Regions from separate parts of the Homo sapiens genome. Here region 1 is linked to region 2. The links are contacts of gene promoters, found by promoter capture Hi-C in blood cells and fetal thymus (Javierre and others, 2016). All regions are on one chromosome and are shown on one strand. Each heading gives the region's core, a stretch centred on a gene start or on the middle of the fragment in contact. The rest is flanking DNA. Distances are from core to core; before and after follow the strand shown. Region 1 overlaps ANKS1B (ankyrin repeat and sterile alpha motif domain containing 1B). Region 2 holds the start of GARIN6 (golgi associated RAB2 interactor family member 6).

Region 1 (3,009 bases), core at 87-2,586, 590 kb after region 2:
AACAAAGATTTATTGAGTGCTTCTGTGTGCCAAGTATTGTGCTAAATTCTCCTTGTGTAGTTTCATTGAATACATATGGCAACGCTCAGCGATAGATATTCTTTTAATCTTTCACATTACTAATCAGAAAATGGATGCTTAGGAAGTATGAGTGATTTGCTCGAGGTCAGATAGCTAATAAGTGGAGTTGCCAACACTCTTACCTGTACTTTGATGATGCCCAAGGCCGCGTGTCTCCCCAGACTTCTCCAAATTTAAAGTGCCATTCCACAGCATAGCATCTTAAATTTCTCATGTCTCAAAATTATTCATGTCATCCCAGTCTATTTTCTTTTCTCTTTTACCTGGTAACACCACCATTTGCCCAGATATCCAAGCTAGAAACTTGGGGTTTCCCTGCATTTTTCTCCTCTTATCCCTTGCATAGTTGTTACAAAGGGATGATGCTGTGATTGACAGAGAAATGCCAACAAACACAGTTAAAGGAAATGAAGCTTCTTTAACGATAACAGATGTGAAAACTTACGGCCCCACAAAACAAGAGATAATACAATGTAATGTCAAATGGAAGTACAGGCTTCATTTAAATGTTCTACATGAAACTGCCTTATTTTTAGTTATGTTTGTATTCAAGGAAAGGCTATGATACTGAAATAGAGACATTCATAATATAGTGGTTTAAAGAATCGAATATTAATTTCTCTCATATAATAGTCTTGAAATGAGCAGTGCAGGTTTACAAGGTGGCTTTGCTCTATGCAATTGTGGAAGGACCGAGGACCTTCTATTTGTTGTTCTGTCATCCTCCAAAGCACTACTACTCAAAGTGTGGTTCATGGGCTGACAGCATTAGCATCACCAGGAAGCTGGTTAGAAATGCAGAATCTCCAATCCTCCCTCCAAATAACGGAATTAGAATCGTCTGCTAATAAGATTCTCTGCATGATTCCTAAGCACGTTGAGGTCTGAGAAGCATTTCCCAGACTCCAGGGTATTGTTTTGCCTGTGTAGTCAAAGCTGAACTGCAGTCACTGATGTTCCAGCTTATAGGAAGATGAAGAAAAAAGAGGAATTCTAGGTCGAGGAACTTCTTTTAGCTAGAGGTGACCTGAAAGTTACATGCAACACTTTCATTAGCATTCCACAGGCTCAACCATATTTTCACAGCAGCAACCAGAAAAAAAGCTGATGTATCTTGTCTCTAGTCCGGCAGGCATGAACCCAATTTAACCCCATTATGTGGAAGAAGAGAGGACAAGTTTAAGGGAACAACAAGTAGTCTTTTTCTCAATTTTCTAACACTTTTGGACATAAAAATGCCTGTCTAATCCATTATTGGCTTTTCAGGGTTCCTTATCCTCTTGTTCTAAATACCATGCCAATATCATAATTCTAGGTTAATAAGTTGTCCCATCAAGAACTACTTTTCTCATTTAATCCCAAAGCTATTATAATGTATATCACCTTTCTCTCTCTTTTTATTTTTTTTACCTGTTTTTATTGCCTTCCTCCTGCTATACCTTCCATCCTGTGGCTCCGTCATCTCATAAGATATTATCCTTATCTGCACAGAAAATGCTGGCTTCAGGCAAAGAGAAAGAATGATGGAATGACAGGCTCTCTCTCTCTATATATATGTGTGTGTGTGTGTGTGTGTGTGTGTGTGTGTGTGTGTGTGTGTGTGATGTGTATATATGTATATGTGTGTATATATATATATAACCACATATATATAACAGATCCATAATATTTCAAATAAAGCTAAAAAGTTAAGAGAAAATAAAATCATAGTGGTCATGTAATCTTACAAAAGTCTTCTAGATTCGTGGTTTTCAAACATTTCTTTTTAAAGCCGAGAAAACCTTTCTTCCTCTTACTTGTATAAAACGCATAAAATAAGAGTTACTCTGGTTGAAGTCGATCAAGCAGTCTCAGAGCATGGGTTGTTCAGCTGCCCCGTAGCTGACCCCCTCAAACCCAGAACTCCACAGAGTACTGTCCTGTGGTTTCTCTGCCTGCTGTACCACCTGTGATGTTAACAGCATACTCTCTCTGAGGCCAAGTATGCTCTAAAAAACTCCTGGAGGAAAGTCATTTGGGTGGAACAAGAACAAGGAAGGCATTTGGCAAAAAAAAAATATGTTAATATATCTCAATTTTCCCAAGACTAAAGCTTCACTGCTATCTCGAATTTCTGTCTCAGCTTAGGTTTTTCCAGACTTTGGAATTCAACTAATTGAATCAAATTGCCTTGTTGCGAGCCTCTGTAATGAATGCCTGCTGCCTGCTCACCACTCTGCCTCTCAGATTATAGAGTGAGCCTGACTTCCGTTCATGCTTAGCAGCACTGCTGGCCTGGCAGGCCGATGGAGCTGTCACTTCCTAGCCCTGTCTTGCCAGATGTTCCCGCTGGAAAAAAAGTTTCATCATTGCTAATTTGAGAATGCAGTCACAGTGCTCCCTGTGGGTACTGCTGAAGATACATGAAAGAAATGTGAATGCCATCTGACCTTTAGTCTACACGTCCTATCATATATATATATATATATGAATTTTAGTTTTGTCTTTGGGCTTATTTTTTCTTTCCTGGGTAAACAAATAGGTTACTAATTTAAAATTAATTTACGAGTCATGGAATTGCAAAATTTAGGAATTACAAAGCAGCTTTGAGATCCTTGGTCCAATACCTTCATTTTATAGCTGACACCACTGAAGCTTAGAGAGATGAAGTGACTTGCCCATGGCTACATGGCTAATAGAATCAAGTCTTCTGTGCTATGGAAACAAAGTCCATTGCATTCTGTAACACAATATCCTATCTGGAACTGGTTCTTGATATATGGAGGTTTTAAATAGTTATGAATGTTATTGTTAGGCAGAAAAAGATAACCTTAGTTTTCATAACATGGAGTACAAAATACAAATCTCTCCCACAAATGGATACCAAGCCACTGAAATGAATTTGTCATTTTGTCTTCATGTATTCATTAAGTCACTTAATTTAACAAA
Region 2 (2,804 bases), core at 98-2,597:
GTTTCAGAATAGACTGGTCAGGATGCTTTGGACAGCATTACAACATTGATATAAAATGAACAGCTGTGGATATAAAATGAAGAGTTGCTGACAGCTAAGAAATCTCTGAAATTCAGGCTTGGAGAACCCTGGAGAAGCACTAGGAACCTCCTCAATGTACCATGGCCTCCAAATGGAAGCTCATTTGGCCTTCAGACCTTCCAAATGCAATGCATTTCCCAGGTGAGCTGCAGCACCAAAGGCTTTACAGGACCTGTACCTGCTCTCCCCCAAAGCATCCAGGCCCCATCTAGTCTCTGCATAGACTCACCACTGGGCTCCTCTGCACTTCCTCCAACACAGATGAGTCCAATGTGTTCCCAGCTAGGATAGCCCTGGTATCACTGTAAGCCTCCACTGGTGGTCTCAGGATGTAAACAAGGTTTTCCCAGTGAACAAAAAGGTCTTCACTTGCATCCGATGGAGGACACAGCTGAAGATAAAAAGAGCGGCCCGTGGCAAGCTTCAGGTGGAGCTGTTTTTTTACGCTGTTGTGGATGGTTATTTTCACAAACATCAAGGGAAGCAGCCTGGTTAGTTCTAAGATCTCTGCAGGCGGACTTTCTCTTTTCTGGGTGGCAGGACCACACCTGGCATTGTCACAGACAGCAGCTGGTCGGGCCAGCAGCATGACATCAGGTAGTGTGAGGCAGGGGCTGGTGCGAACGATGCCCATTGTTACCATTCGGGCACGGTTGTGCACGTCAATCACTTCTCCTCTTTTGCTGATCTGGATAAAGTCGCTCTCAAACATGGGTGCATACCTGAATATAGTATACTCGCCTTTGTACAGTTGCCGCTGCAGCTTCCCCATGGAGGTGTTAAACATGCCCATTGCGGGGCTGCTTTGGGCCGTGTAATACGGTAGCATACAGCAGTCCTCCATGTCTTCCTTTAAATCAAGACAGTTCCCAGCAGCTGCTCCACACCTTCCTTAACATGCTTTAGCGGGCATCCTGTTTCCTTGGCTACTCTGGCAGGTGGGCCAGCAGTCGTGTTCTGCAGGCTTTCTTTTTTGTCCCCAAGTGACTGAGAACAGGGAGGGTGGGGTATTGATTACCAACCGCTCAATGCCAGAGACAGTCAGTCCCCTGGATCCAGACTGTGCCCTGCTTAGTGCATGGAGCTGTCAGGAGCACAGGTGTTGGGGCCCTCGTGGATGTCCGGGCACACAGGTGTCAGTGCTCATTCGGGAGGGACCTCCATTTGAGCCTGATATTCCACTTCACAACAGCCTTTGCTCTTTGATTCCACAACCTTAACTGGCAATCCCACTGCTCTTCTTCCCAACCTGAACCATCCACTGCTGCTAAACCACCCCGCAGGACCACTTTTATCCTCCCCTACCCATTGTGACCTGCCCCATCACACACCCCTTTGTCTCTGTCACCCAGTAGTCCCTGCCTCAGAGCAGGGGCACCGCCCTCTCCACCCCACCCTCAGCCCCACCGCCCTCCACAGCTCAGCAGACCACTACCCCGCCACCAACCTACCATCTAGGGACCTTAATGCATTCTGGCAAATTGCTTTCAAAAGGGTTAGAGGTAAATTTTCTGTGCAAGGCAAGAGTTTAATATACATTCTCTGTATACTCATTTATCCAGCTCCTCTAGTTGTAGACATTTATTTTAAAGAGAGAATTGGATAAATTGGTAAACAGATTGGTACAGGATGTTTATCAATGTTTGTTGTAGAGTAAAAAATTATAAACAGCATTAGTGTCTTACAATAGGGGATTGCTTAAATAAATTATGGAGCTTCTGTGACGGGACAGTCTGCAGCCCTAAAAATGATTACGTAGTTTTCCTATTTATTGACATGAAAAGATATCCCTGACCTTTTTTTTTCTTAAAGAATAAGAGAAAAACTGATTTCAAACTCATAGTATAGGTGAGATTCAATTTATGTAAGACCACGTGTATGTGTTTGTGGATATGGAATTATGTTCAGTGAAATGTTTAAAGTGCTTAGGTATAATTTTCATTTTCTTTTTAACTTCTATTTTTATTAGGAAATTTATTTCTGTTACCAGGGGAAATAACTATTTTATTGGCAATGTATTTTTTTTTTTCTGTTTCTATAGCCATGATAAATTTTATGTTTTGACTCACCCTCAAACTGTTGATGCAATTTTTGAGTTTTACCTAGACATTCATACCCTGGCTATGGAATGAAAAGAGCCTTAAACATCACATTTATGCTCTATTCTTTACCATCAGATTGTATTGAGAAAAAAAAAAGCTGTAAAGAATTTTGCTAGGTATTGCAAATATTTTCAATTCAATAAGATTATAATATCTTTATTGAAATGACAGTACACATGATAACCCATGTGAACACAAACACACACACACACACAGAGCCATAGCCATAGTTGAGTCTTTTTTTTTTTTTTTTTTTTTTTTTTTGAGATGGAGTCTCACTCTGTCACCCGGGCTGGAATCAGTGGCGTGATCTTGGCTCACTGCAACCTCCGCCTCCTGGGTTCAAGTGATTCTCCTGCATCAGCTTTCCTAGTAGCTGGGACTACAGGCGTGTGCCACCACGCCCGGCTAATTTGTATTTTTAGTAGAGATGGGGTTTCACCATATTGCTCAGGCTGGTCTCGAACTCCTGACCTCGTGATTCGCCCGCCTTGGCCCCCCAAGTGCTGGGATTACAGGTGTGAGCCACCGTGCCCAGCCCACTTGAGTCTTTAGTTGCATAAGTCAATGCAAACATAATTTCTTCCTTTCATATTGAAATGTTTGATTATTTTGGATACT

Evidence for each region. The method cuts DNA at HindIII sites, captures the fragments that hold promoters and counts their contacts. A CHiCAGO score of 5 or more calls a contact.
Region 1: a contact is called between a fragment that was not itself captured here and the fragment with the promoter of GARIN6 in region 2, in 1 of 17 cell types (M1 macrophages). The highest score is 6.5, in M1 macrophages.

What each region holds. Positions count from the first base shown.
Region 1 is chr12:99,059,329-99,062,337 of GRCh38, reverse strand. All of the region lies in intron 16 of ANKS1B (ankyrin repeat and sterile alpha motif domain containing 1B), which reads left to right. Among named protein-coding and RNA genes, the nearest start is that of APAF1, 420 kb to the right of the region's middle. The HindIII fragment of the contact is 1,679 bases long and covers 497-2,175 here.
Region 2 is chr12:99,646,296-99,649,099 of GRCh38, reverse strand. It overlaps GARIN6 (golgi associated RAB2 interactor family member 6), which reads right to left and starts at 1,347. Exons shown (of 2, transcript NM_153364.4): 1 at 311-1,347. The coding sequence starts at 925. The region is part of intron 9 of ANKS1B (ankyrin repeat and sterile alpha motif domain containing 1B); the gene reads left to right. The HindIII fragment of the contact is 12,136 bases long and covers 505-2,804 here.